4 separate regions of the Homo sapiens genome follow, and regions 2, 3 and 4 are each linked to region 1. Evidence: promoter capture Hi-C in 16 types of primary human blood cells and fetal thymus (Javierre and others, 2016). All regions are on one chromosome and are shown on one strand. Each heading gives the region's core, a stretch centred on a gene start or on the middle of the fragment in contact. The rest is flanking DNA. Distances are from core to core; before and after follow the strand shown.

Evidence for each region. The method cuts DNA at HindIII sites, captures the fragments that hold promoters and counts their contacts. A CHiCAGO score of 5 or more calls a contact.
Region 2: a fragment that was not itself captured here is called in contact with the fragment with the promoter of FADS1 in region 1 in 1 of 17 cell types (naive B cells); the score reaches 5.2 in naive B cells.
Region 3: the fragment with the promoter of SCGB1D4 here is called in contact with the fragment with the promoter of FADS1 in region 1 in 13 of 17 cell types (total CD4 T cells, total CD8 T cells, non-activated CD4 T cells and 10 more); the score reaches 12.5 in total CD4 T cells.
Region 4: a contact is called between a fragment that was not itself captured here and the fragment with the promoter of FADS1 in region 1, in 10 of 17 cell types (neutrophils, naive CD4 T cells, endothelial precursors and 7 more). The highest score is 15.1, in neutrophils.

Annotation. Positions count from the first base shown.
Region 1 is chr11:61,815,512-61,819,256 of GRCh38, forward strand. FADS1 (fatty acid desaturase 1) reads right to left here and starts at 1,492. Exons shown (of 12, transcript NM_013402.7): 1 at 1,044-1,492. The coding sequence starts at 1,418. It overlaps LOC124902680 (a long non-coding RNA gene), which reads left to right and starts at 2,509. Exons shown (of 2, transcript XR_007062696.1): 1 at 2,509-3,745. It also overlaps a transcript of FADS2 not described here. RefSeq lists an enhancer at 1-693 and silencers at 1,214-1,413, 1,754-1,853. The HindIII fragment of the contact is 2,548 bases long and covers 511-3,058 here.
Region 2 is chr11:62,321,943-62,325,687 of GRCh38, forward strand. No RefSeq gene overlaps it. Among named protein-coding and RNA genes, the nearest start is that of ASRGL1, 14 kb to the right of the region's middle. RefSeq lists an enhancer at 3,241-3,742. The HindIII fragment of the contact is 2,302 bases long and covers 467-2,768 here.
Region 3 is chr11:62,297,123-62,300,867 of GRCh38, forward strand. SCGB1D4 (secretoglobin family 1D member 4) reads right to left here and starts at 1,953. Exons shown (of 3, transcript NM_206998.2): 1 at 1,834-1,953; 2 at 350-536. The coding sequence starts at 1,888. The HindIII fragment of the contact is 1,500 bases long and covers 1,125-2,624 here.
Region 4 is chr11:62,084,049-62,087,793 of GRCh38, forward strand. No RefSeq gene overlaps it. Among named protein-coding and RNA genes, the nearest start is that of LINC02733, 3.6 kb to the left of the region's middle. The HindIII fragment of the contact is 4,419 bases long and covers 1-3,745 here.

The sequences.
Region 1 (3,745 bases), core at 242-2,741:
AGGGCATCACGCTGCAGGGCACGGGATCAGAGGGGGATGCAAGGGGAGGGGACGCCATTCTGGCCGCCAAGGGGGAAACGCGGTGAAGGGAACGCCCCGACTTTCGAGTCCCTAGGACTGAGTCCCCAGGACTCCAACCCAGCAGAGAGGCGCCGGGGCCTTAGCTCTGAGGGCTGTGGTCTAGAAAGGGAAGCAGCAGGCCTGGGGCTGGGGCGCGCGCCGACCCCGCAGTGAGACCAAGGGAAGAAGGGACAGGACCCCGCGAAGGGCCTACCGCCCCAGAGCGTAAACAGCGGTCCGCTCCGCGGAATAGCTGAAGACCTCGCTGGCCTGCGGCTCAGTGGCCTCCCCGGCGATTCGAGAACAGCTCTGGGGGTCCTCGCTAAGTGTATGCCATTCCCAATCCCTTATGTACGCCAGCGGCCGCTTGCCCTCCCCGGCCAGCGCTGTCCCTTCCGCGTCCTCCAGTCTTCACACGACGCAGGGGTCCCCAAGGCAGCGGTCTCCCCAAGCTTCCCGTTTCAGCCCCATCCTCGAGAATGGGCTCCTTTCCTGCTCCCTCTCCGCTCCTGCTGGCGAGTGGAGACCGGCACCTAGGTCCAGACGCGGCTGCGCTGCCTCTCCTAGCCATCGAGACAGGATGTGACTCCCTCCCCTGGCCACTGACCCCCTCCCTCCCCAGGCGGCCTGCATCCTTGCTCTCCTCCCTCCTAGCCTACCCAGCTCGGGGTTCTGTCCCCGCCCAGAGACCTGAGGCTCGGGGCTGCAGATGGAATGCACGGCAGGGAGGCGGGACCCTTTGTTTGTGTGTGCGTGTTGTTGGCCTCCATCCCCACTCCCCAGACTCCACTTCTCCAGGCCTCTCTCCCGCCTTTTCATCCCGCATCCGCAGGACACCCAATCACCGGGCAACAGGTATGATCAGGCGCCTCCGGGCTTTCCTCCGAATTAGTCGGTGTTTGGCTCGGAGTGCGTAACTCTGTCTCCCCTGCACTCAGCCTCCGGTCCCGCCCTCTCCTGTGCCCCCGCCTGGCTGCGCTCACCGTGGCATCCTGCCCGGCGTAGTGGCTGATGACCCGGGAGCCCCCTGGATGCCGGCGGGTGAACTCGCTGATGTTGTACACCTTACGGTCGATCACTAGCCACCGCTCCTCGCACCCTGAGCGCTGGGCCACCTCGTCCCAGGTGAAGTAGCGCGGGGTAGGTCCCTGAGCCGCGGTCTCGGCGGCCACCGGGTCGGGGGCCATAGCTGGCCTGGCGACGCCGCGCGCCGGGCCAGCAGGGGCTGTCAGGCGCGTGCTCGGGGTCCGCGGGCTCCAGGAGTGGATTTGCTGGCGCGCGCCCAGAGCCAGCCGCCTGCGCGCCGGGTTTTCAGCACCGCAGGGCAGACCGGCGGGCCTCGCAGCGCGCGTTCCCATTGGCCGAGCCTCGTGGCGCGGGGAGCGAGATCCCGTCCCCCGGTGGGTCTTGGGCAACTCACAGCTGGGCTGCCAACACGCGCCCCCTCGCGGGCTCCCTAAAGGCGTCGCCGCCGGATTCGACTTCCTGACGTCAGGCGGGCATCGCGGCGTTGGCTCCCAGGGGGCGCCGCGGTAGGAACAGCGGTTCTAGTGCAGGCCCTGGGTGCGGGGCCGCGCTGCAGGAGTGAATGGACTGAGGGGCCAGGGCTGCGGGGTGGCCGCAGGAAGGGTGGGCGGGGCCGGGGTTGAGGTTTTTCCGTGCACGAGGCTGCCCGGGCGGTCGCGGACATCATCTTTAGGCTGTGGATGCCTTGGCCGGGGTCTCCAGACGCTGACCCTCCAGGGTTGGAAACTACTGCCTGCTTGCCACGTCGTGCCGCCAATTGTGCTGCCCGAAGTAGCAGCCTGAGAGCCCTTGAAAGTTGCAGTTATCTTGTGAACAGCATATTTACGGTCTCTTGGGCTTGGTGGTGGTTGGGGGAGGGCTGTTAATGCTTTAATTTGTTCAATGAAACATTTAAAATGCCCCACAATTTTTATAACCCTGTTTGCCTCTTTTTGTTTTTATTTTTATTGTATTTTGGAAAAATTCACTGGGATCCTTGAGTGATGATCCTAGCGTCTCCTGACCCTTAGGTGTTTCACCTGAAAAGCCTGGGTCTTCAAGCTGAGGCATTTCTGTTCTAGCCTGGAGGCGCCTAGGAGCCCTGGGAGACTTTTTAAGCAGAGAGATTTGGCATTTAGATCTCTGGGTTTTAGAGGAGTGGGAACGCACCTAAAAGTGGGGTTGCCAGTTACAAAGCTGTTGCAGTCCTGAAGAGACCCAGAGTTTAGGTCCAAAATTTTATTTATTCAACAAACACTTTATAAAGCACTTACTGTGTGCCAGGCACTGTTCTTAGCGTTTTGCAAACCTTAACTCATTTAATTCTCCTAACAACCCTATGAGGTTGGAACAATTAACCTAATTTACAGTGAAGAAACTGAGCCCGGGGGAGGTTATTTTGTCACACAGCTTGTAAGTGGAGGGCTGAGATTTGACCCTGGCCTGTGCTCTGAACTCTCAGGCTCTGCCATATTTCTCATTACACTGGTATTTGGGCACTTCAAAGGGAAAGGAAACATAACTGTCCCAAGCACTGAGCTAGATTCTGAGCACGTAGGAGTCAGGAGAGGGTGATACAGAATAGACTAGGTGAAATATGGCTAGATTTCTGGTAGAAAAGGATTAATTCATTCCATCCAAATTCTTCATTTTATAGATAAGAAAATTGAGGTTCGAAATGGGGAAGGGGCTTACCAAGTTCCCATAGGGAAGTTTAGATGTCCTGACTTCCAGGTAAGATGCCAGGCTATTGGACCCTGCTCAGGAATGATGGTCCACACAGCTGCACCTCTGTACAGCCAATATTCCTTTTTTAAAAACCTTGCCCAACAACTTGGCAGTGTCTAATGCGAGCTACAAAACATTTTCTATTCTTTGATCAAGCAGTTTCACTCTTGGTAAAGTAGGGGAGACTGTGCAAAGATGCAGAAATAGCCAATTTAATAGCAAAAACTGGAAATAAACCCGAGTCCTGACAATAAGAAAATCGCCAAGCTTATTGGGATCTGTTAACACAATGAAGAATTAAAGAATGATTTTAAATGGCTAGAATGTGAACTATATTGATAGATATAGAATCCTTCCCCGTGAAATAAGCAGAACCCAAAGTAGTATGGGTTCGCTGATTACAACTATATAAGAAATTCATGGGTATTAAATAACAGAAGAGAGGTCCTTTACATAAACCATTTTTCCTATGTGACTGTGCAGTGGGATAAAAGCTCTCATACTGCTGGTAGAAGTGTAAGTTGATTAAACTGGAAAAAATAGTTTGACAACTTATATAGAAATTTAAGATTTTTTTTTTTTTTGAGATGGAGTCTCGCTCTGTCGCCCAGGCTGGAGTGCAGTGGCCTGATCTCAGCTTGCTGCAAGCTCCACCTCCCAGGTTCATGGCATTCTCCTGCCTTAGCCTCCCAAGTAGCTGGGACTACAGGTGCCCGCCACCACGCCCAGCTAATTTTGTTTTTGTATTTTTAGTAGAGTTGGGGTTTCACCATGTTAGCCAGGATGGCTTTGATCTCCTGACCTCGTGATCTGCCCGCCTCGGCCTCCCAAAGTGCTGGGATTACAGGCGTGAGCCACCGCACCCGGCCAGAATTTAGGAATGTTTTGAATACTGAAGAGATGAAAAAAAATAGAAAAATAAAAATGTTCCCAATAATTCCATGTTTAGGAA
Region 2 (3,745 bases), core at 368-2,867, 510 kb after region 1:
CAAGGAAAGGCAGCTCTGGGTCAGCAAGCACACCCTTCTTTGTCCAAAGGGCAGAACACAACACGAGCAGCAGAGAAGGAGCCCAGGATAACCTGGAGGAAGACATCAGCTGGTGGCTGGAAAGGCTGCTCCAGGGTGTGTCAGGCAAATTAAATGAACTCAGCCAAGACTATTTTATAAAATAATAATCATGTCCAATATATTATTCTATTCTACATCTCATAAAGTACTTTCACATACATTATTTCTTCTCATTAATCAATTGAAAGGAACATATTCTAGAGTGGCTCCTGGAAGAGAATGGTCTAGATTTATTTGAGCATAGGGAGGATAACAATGTTAGTCCAGCTCAGAAGAAGCAAGTGAGGCTGCCAGGGTCACCCCAGGCAGACACTCGGCACAGGAATTTCAGCACGGGCCCTTGACCCTAAGATGCACAGGAATGGAACACTCAGGCTTCATTTTAAGCTTTCCCTGCTTGTGAAGGTTAATTTCAGGTGTCAGCTTGACTGGATTAAGGGATACCCAGATAGCTGGTAAACCACTATCTGTGGGTGTGTCTGTGAGGGTGTATTCAGAAGAGGTTGGCATTTGAATCACTGGGAAGATCCACCCTCACCCAGTGTGGGCCCAATCAGCTGAGGGCCCACGTAGAACAGAAAGGCAGACAAAGGGTGAATTTGCTCTTGCTGTCTCTCTGCTGGAGCTGGGACACCCTTCTTCTCCTGCCCTAGGCAATAGGAACTTCAGGTTCTCTGGCCTTTGGACTCTGGAACATACATCAGCTGCCTCCCAGTTTCTCAGGCCTTCAGCCTCAGACTTCCATTTCACAATATCAACTTGTCTGGTTCTCAGGCCTTTGGGCTTGGACTGAGACACGCTTCAGGCTTCCCTGGTTCTCCAGCTTGCAGCTGGCCTGCCATGGGACTTCTCAGCCTCCATCCTCACATAAGCCAATTCCCCTAACAAATCCCCCTATATATTTATACAAACATATAGTTATATATAATCTCCTATTGGTTCTGTCTCTCTAGAGAACCCCAACTAATACACTGCTCTACACAGCTCTACAGTAATGGAGGTCTAAATGATAATCTAAGTAAAATGTTTGCTAACTACCTGCCATCTCTAATTAGCTACACCATTAGCTAGATCAAATAGCTAATCAACTAGCTAGACCAACATGCAAAGGAGAGAATCCTCCTCTCATTACACATACTTCTGGAAAGGCTAATAAGTGTAGAAGAAAGAAAAGTGTCAATCGCCTAACTCAGGATCAACAAACTTTCTGCAATGGGCCAGGAAGAAAATATGTGAGGCTTTGTAGGCCACCATCGTCTGTTCCAGCTACTCAACCCTGCCACTCTAGGGTGAAAGCAGCCAGAGACAATATGTAACAAACAAATGAGTGTCAACTAATGAGAAATAAGGGCTGGACATGGTGGCTCATGCCTGTAATCCCAACAATTTGGGAGGCTGAGGCTGGTGGATCATGAGGTCAGGAGATCGAGACCATCCTGGCCAACATGGTGAAACCCTGTCTCTACTAAAATACAAAAAATTAGCTGGGCATGGTGGTGCACGCCTGTAGTCCCAGCTACTCAAGAGGCTAAGGCAGGGAAATCACTTGAACCCAGGAGGCAGAGATTGCAGTGAGCCTAGATCATGCCACTGCACTCCAGCCTGAGGACAAAGCGAGACTCCGTCTCCCCCGACCAAAAAAAAAAAAAAAACCCTGCAGGGCAGCAAACAAGAGAGGAATTGCAATGCGGGAGACACAAATCTAGCAAGCAGCTAAATCATGTTCCCTCCAAGTGAGGTTGAGCAGGAGTTTTAGAGGTTTACTGTAAATTTACACAAGTGGGACAACTTAGCATGGTCTATGATTAATGGTGATTGATTGACAGCTTAGAATGTCTCTAGCTGATGATCAGCTTATGTTGGCACAGCTCTCTCCCCAGGAGATTTGTGATCAGGCCCAATATAAATAGGTTAAACTAAATGTACCTGCTTCTTCAGGATGTTTACAGTTTGGCCCAGTTCCACAGGTGACATTCTGTCTGGGTGTGTATAGGCCTGGGTCCAACTCTTCCTACCCACCCACCAACTTTTTAGATGCCTCTGACATAGCCATTTCCATCCTGGATTTCCTTTCATATAAATATGTTTGTTTCCCAAGAAGACTTTATTTCTGAACCCTGAAATTTGATTTCACATAATTTCCATGTGTCAGAAAGTACTGTTCTTCTTTTGATTTTTTTAACCATTTAAAAATATAAAATCCAGGGCCGGGCGCGGTGGCTCACGCCTGTAATCCCAGCACTTTGGGAGGCCGAGGCGGGTGGATCACAAGGTCAGGAGTTCGAGACCAGCCTGGCCAACCTGGTGAAACCCTGTCTTTACTAAAAATACAAAAAATATCTGGGCGTGGTGGCGGGCGCCTGTAATCCCAGCTACTCGGGAGGCTGAGGCAGGAGAATCACTTGAACCCAGGAGGCGAAGGTTGCAGTGAGCCGAGATCACGCCATTGCACTCCAGCCTGAGCGACAAGAGTGAAACTCCGTCAAAAAAACAAAAAACAAAACAAACAAACAAAAACGTGCAGAGGGCAGAGCAGAGGATGCATGCACGTGGAAAATGAGAATAACTCTCTTACCTACCTTCAGCAGTGCTCTAACAATTGCAGCAGATTATACCCCAGAGGTCGCAGGAGGAAAAGACTTAACCCTGAAGGCAGGCCAGCCGCTGGGAGAGCCAAGAAGAGGCAAAGCTTTACGTGCCCTCTAGCCCGCTGCCCACTTCCAGAGCCAGGTAAGTCAGTTCTCCTTCTGAGAAGGTGAGGACTGCCTCCTATGGCTAGATGAAGAGTGATTTCTATAAACAGCCCTGGCTCCGGGCAATGTGGGTACCGTCATGACCATCACAAATATGTTTACATTTGCTAAGATCGCAAACAATCTAAACAACCACCGATAGCGCTGAGACAGAATGGTGTCCAAGATATACTACTGAGTGAGAAGAGGAAATTACAGGTCACCCAGGACATTACGCAAGGCGCACACTATTTGTATCAAAGAAGGGTGGCCACAGACGGAGGAGGCTCCCACCACAGGCCAACTTCATCATTGCAAAGCCTCCGCCAGCCGATCCCTGGGGAAACAGCGCCTCCTTGGGGCCAGAGCGCTGTATCTGCACCCCACACCTCCGCATTGGAGGTGTCAGGATGGCTGAGGCCGCCTTGGAGGGTGGCTGCTTCATCTCACCGACCCCTGGTGAAGACGCTAAGAAATGATGGTGCTCTAAAAGAAGTCTCTTTGGCTGTTTCGTTTATCCCATCAGAAAAGAACAGAGATTCAAATCTTGCTATCACCATATTGCCTTTTCATCATCAGGGTTAGCCACAGCACAAGCTATTGAGAAGCTGCTTGGCAAAACTCCTGTGCCCAAGAGGATTGTGTCTTATGGGCTTCAGACACAATCTCTGCCAAGGAGAACCTGCAGTCTAGGATGAGGAAACAGTTATAGAGAGTAGATAGATAAAAAGATATAAGTATTTACAAATCCATAGTATAGGGTTGGTAATAAATTACTAGAACAAACAGGAACTGATTTATTACTTACATCTTAGTTCTTTCCAAAAAAAATTGTGAGTTACAATATGAAACTGCAGAGGATGTCAAATCATTTAGGGACAGGGAGAGCACGAGGCTTGGAGAAGGAAGGACAGAATTCCATCCCTGGCCCT
Region 3 (3,745 bases), core at 703-3,202, 480 kb after region 1:
CTCTGCAGAAGCTGCACAGGAGCCCAGTTCACCAGCACCCTGTCTGTGGGAGGCCCAGCTCTAGGTCCCCTCAAGCCTCCTCTCCCTGTTCAAATCTCCCACACTCCCTGGGACATCCCATAGTGACCGTGTCCACTGCGTGAGGGTAGGTTGACCTCAGGAAAGATCCCAGCAGGGAGGCGGCCGTGCTTGGCCCTTCACCATCCCTGCCTTGGCCCTAGCTCACTCCCCATGTCCTCAGCACACTCTGGGGACACAGCATCCAGGCAGGTGACCTGACAAGAAACATGCAGGAGGCTGTGTGCAGCTGAGTTGAATTCTGCCTCTGCATAAAGGAGAAAGAAATTACCAGGACTTTTTCAATGAGAGTCGTTTCTTAAAAGATATCTGATCGGTGCAGTGCTTCACTTCCAACTTGGCTGCAAGAGCTTCTGGAGGTGGATTAAGTTTGGCAACTTGGAGGTTTACCGCAGCGTCACTTAAGAATAAGAAGACTGTGATCTCAGAAGCAACAGCTGGGCAGACAAGAGCATGGGCTGCAGCACAAAAATAAAAATATTGTTGATGTTAGGAAAGTCGATTTTTCTCTCATGGCTCCCTGAGGTTACACCAGACAGGATCCCCTGGGTTCTATGTTTCTATACCATTATTGTGCTGATGACAATACCAGAAACTCCAGGTGTGACTTTCTCCGGGTCACACAACAAAGGGAAGAGCTTCATATCCTCAGCTAGACTTCTTTTTCTTTTTTTTGAGATAGGTTCACCCAGACTGGAATGCAGTGGCACAATCTCGGCTCACTGCAGCCTGAATGTCTTGGGCTCAAGCGATCCTCCCTCAGCCCCCAAAGTAGCTGAGACTACCAGTGCCTGCCACCATGCCCGCTTTTGTGTGTGTGTGTGTGTGTGTGTGTGTGTGTGTGTGTTTTGTTTTGTTTTTTTTTTTTGTAGAGATGGGGTTTCGCCATGTTGCCCAGGCTGGTGCTGAACTCCTGAGCTCAAGTGATCTGCCCACTGTGGCCTCCCAAAGTGCTAAGATTACAGGAATGAGACACCATGCCTGGCCCACAGCTTGACTCTTGACAACCATAACCTTACTTCATTCTCATAGCCACTCCTGGCAGAAGCTTTAACCACCAGTGATAAGAGGAGGCTCAAGGAGGGTGAGCATTGTGCCCAAGATCAAGGGGTGGGAAGTGTCGAAGCCCAGGTTCACCCCAGACCTCACATTACATCATCTGACACAGATCCCATTCAGAAGTGAAGCTCAGGCAGAAGAATTCCTAACATTTGCCTGAACTGATTTTTCTATAAAACTTCTTAGATACTGGGGATTAGAAGAAATAGCTCTAAGCAGCCAGGCGCAGTAGCTCATGCCTGTTATCCCAGCACTTTAGGAGGCCGAGGCGGGCAGATCATCTGAGGTCGGGAGTTCGAGACCAGCCTGACCAACATGGAGAAACCCCATCTCTACTAAAAATACAAAATTAGCCAGCTGTGGTGGCCCATGCCTGTAATCCCAGCTGCTCAGGAAGGCTGAGGCAGGAGAATCACTTGAACCCCGGAGGCAGAGGTTGCAGTGAGCCAAGATCATGCCACTGCACTCCAGCCTGGGCAACAAGAGCAAAACTTCTCAAAAAAAAAAAAAAAAAAAGGAAGAAGAAAGAAGAAATAGCTCTAACCTTTATGAATCTTATTCAACAAGCACAGAAAAGGGTTTGGAATTTTGTTTGGTTTTGTGCAGACCCCAACCCAAAGCACAAATAGGTGATCTTGTGCTCAGAAGAGGGTGCATCCCAGGGGCTGGTGCTGGACTCATGACTGATGTACTCACCCTGGTAGCAGCAAAGGGCCAGCGAGACCATCAGGAGACACACTGACAGCCTCATGGTGGCTTATTCGGCTGTGAGCTCAGCTTTCACAATGAGTGATTTGGATTCGACTCCAGGAGCCTGTGTAGTCATGGAGGCCAGGGCTATTTGTACCTAGGGAGCCTGGCTGGTCCTACCTACCGGGGCACCTGGTAGGTCATGAGGCCTGGCTCCCAGCCCGCCCTTCCAAGCCAGGGCTGCTGCCGTCCATCAATGTCACCTCCTTAGGAATCTCTGCATCTGAGTGGGGCGGAGCACAAGACAGCAGCCTTGTGAGAACTCTGCTCTGTGCTCCAGGTGAGTGTTCAGGTACATCTGGAAATGTTCCTGGGATCCTCAATTTCCTTATGAGCTTTTGCTGATTAGTTCTTTTTATCTTTGTAGCAGTGCAGGGGCACAGGTGAATTATGGCTTCACAAGGCACAGGAAGCTGGAAGGCTGTGTTCTCTTTATGGGAGAGCAGGGACATAAGGAGACCCTGCTTTGATCCCCCTGCATGTCTGACAACAAGCAGGCTTGTTTCAGTTGCACATTGGGAAAGTCTAATCCTTCCCCTCAGCCCCTTCCATCACCACCATGTTCACTGCATAGGTACTGAAAACATAGTTGAATACATCCCACCTGTAGAAGATATGCTGAGGAAAAACATCTGCTGCACCTGTTCTCTAGCCTGCCTCACTCCCAAACCTGAATCTTGTTTATACGTGCAGTTATATATATGGCCAAGATTCACATTTTCTATCTATAAAAAGCAAGCTTTCTGTGATGTGTAGCCACCCACGTCTTATCTTAGGGCTGATCTGAAGATTAAATAACCTAACTCTTTTTCTCAAGAGCTTTTGGAGTGTTCAGAGCCAATCATACATCAGTGGGGCTCTAGGCTGGGAAGATAATAGAAGGGAAGAGACAGAGGAACAGGGTGGGTGGTCACTTCCCCCTAACCCCTAGGCTCAAGTTTTCCACTTCAAACCTATCTGTGCTGCCTGGGCCAATCCCATTTTTAAGGGAAAGTGAAGGAAGCCCCCAGACAAAGCAATACACACCCGCCTTCCCTCCCATTGCCGTGCCTTCATGTGGTGTGAGTTTAATCACCAGAAATTTTTCTCTTAAATAAACTTACATTTGAGAGGAGTCACAGCCCAGGCCATAGCTTTCCATTCTCAGCTATGTAGTCAAATCACTTGGAGCTTTTAAAACATACTGACCCCACAGGCTTCTCTCTCTGGCGATTTTGATTCAGTAGCATTGGGGTGAATCCCTCCTTTCTGTACTGTTTAAACTGCTCTGGTGTTTCTCACAGACAGCAGGGCTGAGATCCAGCCAGGAAAACCTTTAAGAAGGAAGGGGACCTTACGGGTTTTGTCATCAAAGACACATTGACAGATTTAGTTGAGTCCAAGCTGAGGGCAACAGTGGATCTCACTTTCATCACACAGGATGACGACGGAGTCCCTGAATCAGCCCTGCTGCCACCAAGGAGGGGGAGGGTTGGTGGTGAGGTTTACAGCTATGAGGGTTCAGATCCTCATTTATGGGCTCCTGGACCTTAGGAAAATTATTCAGTTTATGTAACCCCAGTTTTCTCATTTGTCAAAGTAGGCTACTAATGGTGCCTACATCATTGGGTTGATAGATGATCAAATGAGTGTGTTCATGGGTGTGTGTGTGTTTAAAATATACCAAGTTCTGGTACATAGTAGTTCTCAATGTAAACTGCCATTATCTTGTCCCATTTGTCATATATGTCATGGTTTGCCAGTAGTTCCTAGTTTAGAGCACAGCCAAAATCCACTAAATCACCTACTTGCAGAACTACACGGACACCTAGATACACCATTTCTCTTTGACATAAATGGAAAAGGAAACCCAGCTCAT
Region 4 (3,745 bases), core at 742-3,241, 270 kb after region 1:
TGGTGCTCTCTAAAGTGATTAAACTAGGCCGGGCGCAGTGGCTCACGCCTGTAATGCCTGCACTTTGGGAGGCCAAGATAAGCAGATCACCTGGGGTCTGGAGTTTGAGACCAGCCTGGCCAACATGGTGAAACCCCGTCTCTACTAAAAATACAAAAATTAGCCAGGCGTGGTGGCAGGCGCCTGTAATCCCAGTTACTTGGGAGGCTGAGGCACGAGAATTGCTTGAACTTGGGAGGCAGAGGTTGCAGTGAGTAGAGATTGCACTGTTGCACTCCAGCCTGGGCAACAAAGCGAGACTCTGTCTAAAATAAATAAATAAATAAATAAATAAAATAAAGTGATTAAACTATTTATGGTCCTCAAGTAGGAGAATTTCAATTGCTTCACACTTTTGAAAATACATGTTGTGATATTTATATAAAACCAAGAACCATGGATGAAAAAACATATATGTGTGTCTCATATATGTATGCATTTCATATACATATGTGTTATAAACATATATATGTCTTTCATATATATATATATAAAATGTTTTCACCCATGATTCTTGGCTTATAACTCCCATAGCTCTTGTTATTACAGTTTCTGTTATAATGTTAGGGCACTTTAGTTCTCACAAGCAGGCTTCAGGAAACAGAATCTCTCTCTCTCTCTCTGACCTTCTCCTGCCCACCTTTTACCTGCTCCTTTTTTCTCCCCACCTTTTACCTGCTTCTTTTCCTATCTTTCTGTCTAGGAGCTGGTCATGAGGAAATTCTCTGGCCTACTTTGATTGTAGGTCACAATACCCTCATTTCAGACAGGTCCTGCCCTATTCCCTGGAAGGAATGCTGCACAGAGAGACCAAGAAGAATCTGATCAGATGGGCCTTGTTGGGTTTCCCCATTCAGCCTGTTAGTGTTAGATCGTACCCAATCATATTTATTTTATTTATTTATTTATTTATTTATTTATTTATTTATTTATTTTTTGAGATGGAGTCTCACTCTGTCACCTAGGCTGGAGTGCAGTGACGTGATCTCGGCTCACTGCAACCTCCGCCTCCCGGGTTCAAGCAATTCTCCTGCCTCAGCCTCCCAGGTAGCTGGGATTACAGGCTCCCACTACCATGCCTGGCTAATTTTTGTATTTTTAGTAGAGACGGGGTTTCACCATATTGGCCAGGCTGATCTCGAACTCCTGACCTCGTGATCCGCCCGCCTTGGCCTCGCAAAGTGTTGGGATTACAGGCGTGAGCCATCATGCCTGGCAATAAATTATTTCTTCAAATATTGTGGGGATACAACTGCAGAGATCTCAGATTTCAACGTGTTTTTGTCCAATGCTTATACCATTCAGGTTATAACCATTTCAGAAAAGGTCTGTATAATTCTGGCAATTCATGTATGGCCTTGTAGTGTTAGGTTTTTAGGTGTATATGTGGGATATGTGTGGTTTAGGAAAAAAGCCTTGCAACTTTACAAAGCACTGGACATACACTAGCTAGCCTTCTCTTCACTCCTGTCATTACTGATCTGTTTTCCCCATTTTAGTAAATGGTCAAGATTTACCCCTAGAGAAAGAGTCAGCTTGTGGCCAAATTCATGTTTGATAGATCTTCTCAGCTCTAAAACTGAAAGGGAGAAACTTCAGACAGCAGAAAGAGAAAACAAACAAGCAGGGTGGGTGAAATAATTTCCTATGGTTGTTGAAACAAATTACCACAAATTTCGTGGTTTAAAACAACACAAGGCTGGGCTCAGTGGTGCATGCCTGTAATCCCAGCACTTTGGGGGGCCGAGGTGAGAAAATTGCTTGAGCTCAGGAGTTTGAGACCAGCCTGGCAACACAGTGAGACCTTGTCTCTAAAAAATAAAGAAAGAAAGAAGAAAAAGAAAAAAATTCCAAAAACCAAAACCACCCCACACATTTATTATCTTATAGTTCTGGGGTCAGAGGTCCAAAATGGGTCTTTATGAGCTAAAAACCAAGGTGTTATCAGGCCTGCATCCCTTCTTTTTATTTTATTTAATTCTTTTTTTTTTTTTTGGTAGGGATGCAGTCTCACTCTAATGCCCAGGCTGGTCTTGAATTCCTGGGCTCAAGCAATTCACCCATCTCGGCCTCCCAAAGTGCTGGGATTGTAGGCATGAGGAACTGTGCCTGGCCTTACTTTTGGGTTTTTGAGGAAAAGTGTGGTTTAGACACTTGGAAATGTCTTTGTCGAAAAAAAATGTTTTTTAAGTGTACAGTAAAAGCATCACATGGTCTAACCTCATAATAATTCTCCCTTTTTGGAGACCCAAGATTCAACGTGGGCTTTCCCAGAGCTCAGAGATCCAGTTAAAAGATAAGTAGGCCCTATCTAAATAAAATTGATCCCCTTATACAATCCTATGATAGATTTCTATAATTTTATGTTCAATTTGGCATCCATCTTTAATCTTCCTCTAGCACCACCAGACTTTTACTCTCTGTACCTTATGATGTAAATTTTTCTATTTGATTTTCAGCTGAGTTCTTTCCTTTAATATGCACATTTAAGGCTATTTAACTGACAACTGCCTAGTGTTGTGAAACAGGTTATCAAGTATCTGAAAGTCTAAGATAGGAAAAAAAAAAAAAGGTGTGTTTATTAAGTCTATAAGATGTAATTCTTTTTTTTTTTTTTTTTTTTTTTTTTGAGATGGAGTCTCGCACTGTCCACTGGCCTGGAGTGCAGTGGCGCAATCATGGCTTACTACAACCTCCGCTCCCAGCTTCAAACGATTCTCCTGCCTCAGCCTCCCAAGTAGCTGGGATTACAGGTGCCCGCCACCACACCCAGATAATTTTTTTTATTTTTAGTAGAGACAGGGTTCCACTATGTTGGCCAGACTGGTCTCAAACTCCTGACCTCGTGATCTGCCCACCTCAGCCTCCCAAAGTGCTGGGATTACAAGCATGAGCCACTGCGCCTGGCCTTTTTTTTTTTTTTTTTTTTTTGAGACAGAGTCTCTCTCTGTTGCCCAGGCTGGAATGCAGTGGCACGATCTTGGCTCACTGCAACCTCCATCCCCCAGGTTCAAACAGTTCTCCTGCCTCAGCCTCCTGAGTAGCTGGGATTACAAGAGCCCACAACCATGCCCGGCTAATTTTTTGTATTTTTAGTAGAGGTGGGGTTTCACCATGTTGGTCAGGCTGGTCTCAAGCTCCTGATCTCAGGTGATCCACCCATGTTAGCCTCCCAAAGTGCTGGGATTATAGGCGTGAGCCACTGCACCCAACCTATAAGATGTATTTCTATTGGCATTCCTAATACATCTATGTATTTATGTGTTGTATACACAATGTTTCACTACCAAAAATATATAAAAGAGGTCTAATTAATTGGCTTAAAGAAAAATAAAAGCATTGAAATAAAATACTTTATCAGAAAAAGGAAAAACTAGTCAAATTATTTTTCAAGTTTACATGACTTAAGTAAAATCTTTAATAAGTAAGCTAGCTTTAAAATTATTGGTAAAATAATATTAGAAATGTCTTAAGAATTTCCAGCATACATTTTATTTGCATTTATTAATCTAGCAATTTCATACTTATCCTAGCCAAATACTATAAGGTGTCAAAATTTGGCACAGGGGTTACAAAACCATAAACCCAGCCCAAAACAGAATGATTCTTGCTTGCCGATCTTTAATAAACAAGACATTGATATTGTTTAACAAAAATAGCTACATCTGGAATTACTTAGTAAAATTACCATAACTTCTAATCTTGT